Linked DNA regions of Homo sapiens: regions 2, 3 and 4 are each linked to region 1. The links are contacts of gene promoters, found by promoter capture Hi-C in human tissues and cell types (Jung and others, 2019). All regions are on one chromosome and are shown on one strand. Each heading gives the region's core, a stretch centred on a gene start or on the middle of the fragment in contact. The rest is flanking DNA. Distances are from core to core; before and after follow the strand shown. Region 1 holds the start of TMEM30B (transmembrane protein 30B). Region 2 overlaps MNAT1 (MNAT1 component of CDK activating kinase). Region 3 overlaps LINC03033 (long intergenic non-protein coding RNA 3033). Region 4 overlaps MNAT1 (MNAT1 component of CDK activating kinase).

Evidence for each region. Contacts are between HindIII fragments. The study calls those that stand out against the background at their distance.
Region 2: a fragment that was not itself captured here is called in contact with the fragment with the promoter of TMEM30B in region 1 in 2 of the 25 tissues and cell types used here (liver and mesenchymal stem cells).
Region 3: a fragment that was not itself captured here is called in contact with the fragment with the promoter of TMEM30B in region 1 in 1 of the 25 tissues and cell types used here (thymus).
Region 4: a fragment that was not itself captured here is called in contact with the fragment with the promoter of TMEM30B in region 1 in 2 of the 25 tissues and cell types used here (H1 embryonic stem cells and lymphoblastoid cells).

The regions. Positions count from the first base shown.
Region 1 is chr14:61,279,986-61,282,622 of GRCh38, forward strand. TMEM30B (transmembrane protein 30B) reads right to left here and starts at 1,353. Exons shown (of 1, transcript NM_001017970.3): 1 at 1-1,353. The coding sequence starts at 1,162. The coding sequence ends at 107. It also overlaps a transcript of PRKCH not described here. RefSeq lists an enhancer at 1-778. The HindIII fragment of the contact is 14,970 bases long and covers 1-2,637 here.
Region 2 is chr14:60,898,953-60,901,589 of GRCh38, forward strand. All of the region lies in intron 7 of MNAT1 (MNAT1 component of CDK activating kinase), which reads left to right. Among named protein-coding and RNA genes, the nearest start is that of TRMT5, 81 kb to the right of the region's middle. The HindIII fragment of the contact is 5,229 bases long and covers 1-2,637 here.
Region 3 is chr14:61,643,718-61,646,354 of GRCh38, forward strand. The region is part of intron 1 of LINC03033 (long intergenic non-protein coding RNA 3033); the gene reads left to right. Among named protein-coding and RNA genes, the nearest start is that of HIF1A, 50 kb to the right of the region's middle. The HindIII fragment of the contact is 7,770 bases long and covers 1-2,637 here.
Region 4 is chr14:60,944,345-60,946,981 of GRCh38, forward strand. The region is part of intron 7 of MNAT1 (MNAT1 component of CDK activating kinase); the gene reads left to right. Among named protein-coding and RNA genes, the nearest start is that of TRMT5, 35 kb to the right of the region's middle. RefSeq lists a silencer at 1-41. The HindIII fragment of the contact is 3,483 bases long and covers 1-2,637 here.

The DNA.
Region 1 (2,637 bases), core at 103-2,602:
GAAAAGCTAGGCGAGGTTGGAATTGGGTGACGGGCGAGGAGGAGATGCCAAAAGCACCTTGCAAGAGTTTTGGCAAGAAGCAGGAGGGATCCCTGGAAAGCCGGAATCACTCCTCGTCGTCGTCGTCCTGGTCCTGGTAGCGAATGTAGACGACCAGCATGACAAAGCCGGTGAGGATGCAGAGGGAGCCGACGACCAGGTAGGCGATGCCCAGGAAGGGGTTCTTGCCACCCATCCACGAGATGCTGCTGAAGATGAGGAGCTTGTGGCCGCCGAACGCGCGCACCGGGTAGTTGTAGGTGATGTTGACGCGGTAGGCGCCCCGCGGCAGCCCGGCCGAGTAGTTGCCCTGGCGGATGCGCGCGTACAGTTTGCGGAACGTGGGCAGCGCCGCCGTGCGCATCCACACCACGAAGTCCTGATTGATGAAGCCGGTGTTGTTGGGGTCGGGGCTGAGCTCGTAGACTGGCCGGCGCCAGTTGGGCGGGGGCGCCGTGCCCTGGAAGGCCAACGCCAGGCTGCCGTTGACCAGCGGCGGGTTGCGGAACTTGACGTGGTAGTCGGTCCACCAGGCGATGCCGGAGCGGTCGAGCGGCACCTCGACGTAGGGCCCGCCGGGCTGGCGCTGGTGCCAAAGCGAGAAGGAGTCGTTGAAGAGGCTGTTGGCGATGGCGCCGCAGGGCGCGATGGGCAGGCCGGCCGCGCTGCGCTGGTAGGGGGCGCACTCGTTGACAGGGTGGCGCAGCGCGCTGGGGAGTCCGCTCAGCTGCGCGTCGTCGCGGGACACGCCGTAGCGCCGGTTGTTCTGGTAGAAGTTGGTCAGCTCGTAGTAGAGGTACACTGGGCCCTGGAAGAGCTCGGGCAGCGAGAAGTACCAGGCGCACGAGCAGGGGGGCGGCAGCGCCCGGCCCTGGCCAGCCGCGGCGCACACCGAGCAGTTACCGGTGCCCGGGTCGCCTGTATAGTCGTACTCCAGCTCCTTGATGCCGTTGGAGGAGTAGTAGAGGCCCAGGCCCAGGCCGATGAAGGCCAGGCCCGCGCAGAAGAAGAGCGGCAGCGCGATGCTGGCCGACAGCAGCGGCTGCCAGGCGGGGAGGCGCTGCTGAGTGAAGGCGGTGTTGTCGGGCTGGTGGGCGCCCCGGGCCGTGGCGCTCCAGGTCATGGCGGCCGCGCGGGGACCGACGCGCGGGCTGACCGAGTGGGGGCCCCGCCGCGGGGCGCCTCCCTCTCCGCGCCGCGCAAGCCCGGGGACTGCTCGCGGGTCGGGTTTCCCGCCAGCTCAGGTGGGTTTTTGCCCGGGCCCCTCCTCTGCCTCCGTCACAGGTGAGTTTAGTTCCAGGCCCTACGAGCAGTGCCCACACCCTCCCAGTTCCGCCTCCGCCCAGGTGCGCTGCACCCCCGCGGGTCACCGGGAGCCGCACCTCGCCCGCCCCTTCCGAGGTGAGCAGGTGGGTGTTTTTTACCTCACCTGGTAGACTCAGTCTCGCGTTTCCTCTCAGTCCAGGTCATCGGACTCCACCTCCTCTCCTAGGTGAGTGGCGGCCCCGGGCTGCCTCTGAGTGGCTCCTACCTGGCTCAGGTACCACCTTCTCTTCCGCCTTCCAAGTGACTAGAGTTCCTGGGCCAGTCTCCCGAAATCAAAAGGCGCTCCGGCCTCCAGCAGAAATTTTTGCTGAGGGCTTGCACCGTGGTCCTGGAGGCTTGAAGATTTCAGATCCTTAATCCTCTGTTATTTGCGGGGAAAAGGTGGCTCTAGACCATTTTGTCTTTTAGGTTAGCTTCACAAACCGCTTTCGCCCAGCTTTCAGTCTCAAGTTGGGAGTGTCCAGGGAATTACGTTATGATAAATCTGTTTCGAATTCAACGCCTGCGTTCAAATTTTAGCTTTTTTTTTTTTTTTTTTTTTTTTTTTTTTTAAGGGAAAATGATTTTCTGGCCAGATCACCCAGTCTGGCTGTATAACTAGGAAATGTGGAAAGTTCTCTAAAAATAAAATCATCCTTAAAAAGAATCAAAGGCTGGAGAGGTTCAGAGCCTTTAAATAACTCTTAGCTGGTGTGGAGAAACCAAGAAAGGAAAAAATGTGCTGGACTACATGTGATTTCGTTTTCTTTTCAGATTATTTGCCTGACTAGAGAAAGGCCCAATCCAAGGTCCCAGGAGACCTAGCTGCTATCCACAAAAACATCTGGAGTGTCTGGCCTAAGGAAGTAAACTACAAGGATTTATAGGATTTATTATAAAAAGAACTCAAATTAGCTCCCTATGTTGCCTGGGATTCTGGCTTTTTTTTTTTTTTTTTTAAATCTAGGTTGGTAAAACATATACAAGGGGGTATTGGGACGTTCTGATTTCTTACTAAATCTAAATCTTCCCTAGGTATTGTGTTCTTGCTTCTCCTCCAGCTTGTAAAATGCAAGTAATACAAATGTTTTCTCTATTACACTACACCTAGCATAATATATTATATTCAGGAGTCATTCAAAACCCATTGAACTTGGAAAGTTAAAATCCTTATTAAATTTAACAGAGGAATGTTGTTAGCATCTTCCAAGTGTTCAGTCCTATGCTAATTAGACAAAAAAGGACCTTTGACCTCAAGGCATTTGCAGTTTGATAGGGGACATATTAGGAGTA
Region 2 (2,637 bases), core at 84-2,583, 380 kb before region 1:
CCAGTTACATTATTCTGCATATGAATATCCAATTTTCCCAGCACCACTTATTAAAGAAGGAATTCTTTCCCCAGTGTACGTACTTGGTATCATTGTTGATTATTAATTGGCCGTAAACATGTGGCTTTATTTCCGGGTTCTCTATTATGTTCCACTGATCTTGTAGAATGAAATTTTTATCTTAATTTCATGTAGAGCTTGTCTTTATACTGCTTTGTGGTAGCTACAATGCTCTATCACAAAGCAATACAAAGATATAGATGCACGTACTTATTTCTGTCTTATGTTGACATAACTGGCATAAGTTCTGTACTATCAATCAGCAAACTTTAAAAATGATTTTTAACTGTGAAGGTTTAATGTCCTGAGTCACAAGACATGATAATATCTATTATTATATCATCAGTAGTGAAAATAATTGTAGTAGTTATGATGATATTGAATTAAGTCAGTTAATTAGAACCTGATGGTAATTAGAAGAAAATTTCTTGCTTGATCTCTATTAGCAGAGAATATCTAACTATTATTATATCATCAGTAGTGAAAATAATTGTAGTAGTTATGGTGGTATTGAATTAAGTCAGTTAATTAGAACCTGATGGTAATTAGAAGAAAATTTCTTGTTTGATCTCTATTAGCACTATTAATTTTGTTTTCTTGTGTGGCCATAGACTGCATTCATAAAAACCAACTTGCTGAGCAAAAGTAATTGATTATCACAAATCTATTACTCTTATTGGCAAAGCAATTAAAAAATCTATGACTCTTGAAGAAATAGAATAGGGTCCAGTTCACAAAAATACAGGTGTACCTCATTTTATTGCATTTCGTTTTATTACTTTTTGCAAATATTGCAAGTATATCAATGCTGTTTTTCCAACAGCATGTACTCACCTCATGTCTGTTTTTCACATTTGGTTAATTCTTACACTATTTCAGACTTTTGCATGATTTTATCTGTGTGGTGATTTGTGATTAGTGATCTTTTGCTGTTACTATTATTATTGTTTTGGTTGCCACAAACTGTACCCGTATAAGAAGGTGAAGTTAATAAATGTGTGTGTTCTGACTGTTCTTCTGACTGGCTGTTTCCCCATCTCTCTCTCTCTCTCTCTCTCTCTCTCTCTCTCTTACCTTGGACTTCCCTATTCCCTGAGATGCAGCAATATTGAAATTAGGCCAATTAATAACCCTGCAGAGGGTTCTGTGTGTTCAAGTGAGAGGAAGGGTCACATGTCTCTCACTTTCAATGAAAAGATAGAAGTGATTAAGCTTAGTGAGCAAGATATGTCAAAAACCAAAATAGGCAAAAGCTAGACCTCTTGTGCCAAACAGCCAAGTTGTGAATGCAGAGGAAAAGTTCTTAAAGGAAATTAAAAGTGTTGCTCCAATGAACACATGAATGTTAAGAAAGCAAAACAGCCTGATTGCTGCTATGGAGAAAGTTTTAGTGGTCTGGATAGATCGAAGAAGCAAGAACAATCCCTTAAACCAAAGCCTAACTTTCTTTAATCCTATGAAGGCTGAGAAAGGTGAGGAAGCTACAGAAGAAAATTCTAAAGCTAACAAAGGTTGGTTCATGAAATGTAAGGAAGGATGCCATTTCCGTAACGTAAAGTGCAAGGTGAAGCAGCAAGGGCTGATGTGGAAGCTTCAGCAAGATCTACCAAGATATTGATGAAGGTGGCTACTCTGAACACAGATTTTTCAATGTAGATGAAACATCCGTCTATTGGAAGGAGATGCCATCTAGGATTTTCATAGCCAGAAAGAAGTCAGCCACTTATGGTAGCTCACACCTCTCATTCCAGGATTTTGGGAGGCTGAGGCAGGCAGATAGCTTGAGCCCAAGAGTTCGAGAGCAGCCTGGGCAACATGGCAAAAAATACAAAAATTAGCTAGGCATGGTGATGGGAGGTAGCTACTCAGGAGGCTGAGGTGGGAGAATCACCTGAGCCTGGGGAGGTTGAGGCTGCAGTGAGCCATGATCATGTCACTGTACTCCAGCCTGGGTGACCCTGAGCTGGAGTGTAGTGATGTGATACAGTGAGAGCCTGTCTCAAAAAAAAAAAAAAAAAAAAAAAAAAAAAAGTCAATGCCTGTTTCCAGAGCTTCAAAAGCAAGTCTGACTCTCTTTTTAGGAGCAAATGCAGCTGGTGACTTTAAATTGAAGCCGATATTTATTTGCCATTTTGAAAATTGTAGGGCCCCTAAAAAGTATGCTAAATCTACTCTGCCTGTGCTTTATAAATGGAATGAAAAAGCCAGGATGACAGTGTGTCTGTTTACAGCATGGTTTGCTGAATATTTGAAGCCCACTCTTGAGACTTACTGCTTCGGAAAAAAGAGATTTCTTTCAAAATACTGCTACTCATTGACATTACATCTGGTCACCTAAGACTTCTGATGGATATGTGCAAGGAAATGGATATTGTTTTCATGACTGCTAGCACAACATCCATTCTAAAGCCCATGGATCAAGGAGTAATTTTGACTTTTCAGTCTTGTTATTTAAATAATATGTTTCATAGTGCTATAGCTGCCATAGATAGTGATTCCTCTGATGGATCTGGATGAAACAAATTGAAAACCTTCTGGAAACAATTCATTACTCTAGAAGCCATTAGGAATATTTGT
Region 3 (2,637 bases), core at 63-2,562, 360 kb after region 1:
GCATAGTATCCTAGGAATCTCAACAGTTGGAAAGACTAGTGAGATCATCCTGTCTAGCCCTTACACATGATTCAGGATTTCCCTTTTTGGTATCCTTTACAAATGATCATGCAACTTTGATTTAAGCAACTGACTTTACTGAAACCAAAGTTGCATGATCATTTGTAAAGGATTTGTCTGACTGTCTTGTCTGTTTCCTTCACCAGCTTATAAACTGAATGAGAAAAGAGGCCACGTTTCTTGGGTTCACAGTTATTTCCCCAGAACCTGATAGAGTACCTGTAAGCATGAAGGTTCTCAATATGTATTTTTTGGGGGGACTTTTGGTGGTGGTGGCTGTTGTTAAAACTACTTTATTGAGATATGATTGTCATACAAAAAGCTGTACATATTTAATGTATACAGTTTGATGAGTTTGGAGATGTGTTCACCCATGTAAATATGTGTTTTTGAATGAATGGGTGAATGAATGAGCAACTTTGGTGACAGGAAGATGTAGAAACTAGGTAAGAATTAGAATGGTTAACAAGAGTTATTCCAGTGGTTACTCTTCCATTTGGGGCAGCTCTAATTTCATGTTCCTCTTTATACAGTTGCTTATTTTGTTCCCTAGGTCACTCAGAGTGAGTCTAGCCCTTCCTCTATGTGAAAATTTATTTCAAATACAAAGAGAACTGTTGTGCTCCCTAAGTCTCCTCCTCTCTGGCTAAGTATCTTCATTTACTTTAACCACATGGCCTGTTTTAGTCCTGTTTTAGAAATGCATCACAATTCTAGTTGTTCTCCTTTCATTCACTCAACAAATATTTATGAGCATCCACTGAGTGCTCTGTACCAGGGCTCTGTATGCAGTAGGGGGAAAAAAGAGACATGCACTTGCCTTCCACCTCATCAGTGTTCCTCTGAAGTTATTAAACATAGCAATCCCCAGAACTAAGAAAAGCAGATGCCCCTTCCTTTGTACTGGGTATGTTCTCTTTTACTACTACAGTATATCTAAATAAGAGATACTGGTTCTTCCACTTGCTTTTTTGCAGTACTAGATGTGGTATTTCTTGTTGTTTGTACAGCCATGGACCATGAATTAAGTGTGACTTTTCTTTTGGGTACAAGAGCATATATACATAGAAGGATATAGATGGTATGCACAACACAACCATCTACATTCATCCATCCCTTACAAATAGAATACGTGTTTGCACTCTTTGATAAAGGTAATGCAATGCTCAGAAAAGCGCCCCAGCATCTAGAGGAGCAGGGTGTTTTTCAGGCATCTGTGAGAAACAGATGCTCTGTCAAGCCAGGGACAGGGGCTCAGGTTACATCCTGTGTTCAGTGAAGCACATCAGAATCATTTGCCTAGTACAGCCTCAAGTAATTGTTTTATTTCTTATTCTTCTATTATTTTATGCATTTTTTCTACTTTTAATAATGAAATAAACCCATAATAAAACAAAAATAATTCAACAAAACTGATGGGATTTTTTTTTTTCATTGCAAATGTCTGTTTAACTAATTTGTTCACTAATGGAGGCTCCCAAGCTTCAGAAAAGATATTCTCCTTTAAGGGAACACAGATGTTTGACTTAAAATTCCATATTTGTGACATTTCAATATTGGTATCCTCATTTTTTTTTTACTAATGAAATTGTAAGAAAACAAAATCTGCTTGTCCTACAGCAATTTGGCTGTGATTCAAAAACTTTTTATTAAAATGAAGTAATATGTTCTGCAAATCTAATTGCAGAGGAATTAGACACACTAAACCAAATAGTCATCTGTGATACAAAATGAAATAAACTAGAGAAAAACCATTTCAGGAAATAGACAGTAGAAAGAGGTTCTAAGGAATGGCTGTCTGCTTCTATTGTGATCATTTCTGTGTTCAGTTTTGATGTTTTTTAATGAAATATTTTAACCTTAGACCTCATTTTCTTTATTTTCCTTTTTGCCCTGTCTTATGGTATGATCAGACCTCATTTTTAAATGACACATTTATTTCACTAACATTGTACTTATGTAGTTGAAGTGAATGGATTAGGATCATTGACCAACTTAATTGTATATAAATGCAAATGACAATATATCTGTTGGAGTTATAATAATGGTTAGAAAATAGGGAAGAATGACAAGAGAAGTTTAGTGGAAGGTGGGTATGGACATAACGAGAGTGCATGGGTAAAACTAGCCAAAATTGTTTGGCTGCTTTAATTTGCCTCAGTCTTCAACTTTAAATAAGAAGATTTAATCAATTAGATTACTTGCAGTATAACTATTTCAATTCTCCAAACACCATTAGGTTATCTGTTCTTCGGGCCAAATTCAATGCCACGTACAAGGTAAATGCTGAATATTTGCAGAATGAATGAATGAACTAATGGACAAATAAATGCCACACTTCTTCCTTTTTTTTTGTCTTGATAGGAGTGTAGGTCAGTAAAGACCTCAAAGTTCTGATGCCTGTAATCGAGATACAAACATTTGACTCAACTAATAGAGAACTATCTTTTGCATTAGAGTTATAAACAGAACACTAGATGAATTTTCATATTATTCTTCTCTAGTAAAGACATTAGGTCACAATTAGCATTTACTTGAAATGTTTGTATATTTAAATTTCTCTATATATTTATATTA
Region 4 (2,637 bases), core at 94-2,593, 340 kb before region 1:
GGTGGAGCCTTCCTGACTCTATTAATGCCCTTATAAGAACAGCTACCAGAGAACAAACTTGCTGTCTCTCTGCCACGTGAGGACACAGATAGAAGGCCAGGAAGAGAGCCCTCGCCAGCAACCAAATCAGCCAGGACTTCCTAGACTCCAGAATTATGAGAAATAGACTTCTATCGTTTAAGCCACTGAGTGTGTGGTATTTTGTTATAGCAGTTGAAGTAGACAAATAGACTATTACCATATAGCTTTAGAATCAAACATTTAATGTTAAATCCTACCCCCATAGTACTGGTCTCAGGAAAGGTATGTGGCCTGTTCAGGGTTGTTATAAATTATCAGGAACAATATACAAGAAGTGCCTAAATTATAAAATTTTATAAACTTATAAAACTTCAAATTGTCAAGATTTTGGTAAGCGAGGCACTTTAATTTCACTTTCTAGAACTCATAATTTTCTAGGAGAAATTATCTCTGGTTTTAATTTTTATTCCATTTTATTGTCTGAATTATTCATAGATGTACAAATAATGAGAGGACTCAAAGAGTTTTCATGCAAACATAGCTCTTAAAAAGTGTTAACTCTTTGCTCCAAGGAAATAAATATTTAGAAAACTCTTACTGTAAATATGATTATAGCAGTTTCCCAAAGCTAATAAAATATTTCATCAGCTAATGAAAAATTCAGTCAGTGCAATTAAGCAGCTAATGTGAAGACCTGAATCAGAGTTTCAAAGCTACTAAGAACCACTTACCATCATCATGTAGGCTCAAGTGCTTTTCACTCAAAGCTTAGTAGTATACTTTCTTGTTCAAGGTATACTTCAGGGGTTAAGAATATTTCCAAACCTATAGCTTCCTATTGTGTCCCAAAATGTTTTTTTGAGACACAGGCAGCACTTTCAGTTTTTTTTCTAAATCCATCTTTTGAGTCTATAATGTGTCATGATAATCTTTTTATTATGTAAGAGGGGAGTCAGGTAATTTTATCTCTATCCAGAGCCCTTTGCCAGAAAAAAAAAATAGAGCATCTTTATATAAAGGAATTCTAACTATCTATTTTCTTTGTTTTTCTTTGGAATAAATTTGAATACCAAATAGATTCCTTATAGGAATCACTTTACAATATGGGCCCAGTCTCAAAGTTGAATAAATCTTTGGTCATTTTTCTCTGTTACATGAGAGAAGGGCTTAGGCCACTGGGGGCACTTTCTAAAATTCCTTTATAATCACATCTTTTCTTCCTTATGAACACATTAGTATTTTTACTGTTTTAATTATATTAAATACATTAGTATTTTAGTGTTTTCGTTATATTGTGACAATATATAACATTTGAATACAAATAATAATTAGAAATTTTAAAACATGTATGAATTATTGTTAAATTAGTTCTGCCGAGAGAAGCTGGAGAAGATCCCATAAACAACAGATTGGTGCCATTCAGGTATCATTTTGCACACAGATACGGTGGCTTCTTCTCTCACATCCCACAGTGGCTTTCCCACATCATCAGTTTCCTAAATCTCCCACTCCACTTTCCCCTCTTTATACTCAGCAACTAACTTTTCAACATGCTACACAGAGAAAACGTATGTATGAATACATTCTCTCCAAAGCCACACTCTAACTATAAACTCGTCCATACTTGTACACATTGCTAACTCCTTCTGTCCATTCTTATTGGCAGAAAGGCCTGTCCTGCTTTTGAGGCCAGTCCCACCACCTGTGTTCCATGGCCTACTTTTGATTCAACTCAGGGATATTAGACCATCAAATTGGTCTCCCTCCCTCTTTCAGATTGAGATCATCTTCTCTGTGTTGAAATATTTCCTTTACAACATGAACATACTCAAATTTCCATCTTAAAACCACATAGTCGCTTCATCAACCCTGAATCTTCCTCTGACTACTGCTCTTTCTTCCATATTCAATGAAAAACCTTTGAAAAAAGTCTTATACTTGCTCTCTCTACTTCCTTATTTCTGATTCATCCACCAAACCTAGTGGAATTTGGCTTTTACTTAGAATCTGATTTTGCTGATTCACAATCGACTTGCTAATTACAAAATTTGGTGGGTAACTTGCGGTCCTTTTCTTATTTTACCCTTCTATCGAACCATTCTCTTATTCTTCAAACTGTATCTTTCATTTGCTTTATGACACTACTTCCTTTTTGTTTTTGTTTTTGTTTTTTTTTTCTTCCTCTGATTTCTTCTGAATCCTTTTGGCCAGTTCTTCTTCCTCTGCTAAAGTTATTGTGTGAAGTCATTCCTTGACCTTTTGTTCTCATTCACTATCACTAATTGAGTACCTGTGTGTATGGTAGGCTCTTTTTTAGGCACTTCTTGTATATCGTTCCTGATAATTTATAACAACCCTGAACAGGCCACATACCTTTCCTGAGACCAGTACTATGGGGGTAGGATTTAACATCAAATGTTTGATTCTAAAGCTATATGGTAATAGTCTATTTGTCTACTTCAACTGCTATAACCAAATACCACACACTCAGTGGCTTAAACAATAGAAGTCTATTTCTCATAATTCTGGAGGCTGGGAAGTCCTGGCTGATTTGATTGCTGGCGAGGGCTCTCTTCCTGGCCTTCTATCTGTGTCCTCATGTGGCAGAGAGACAGC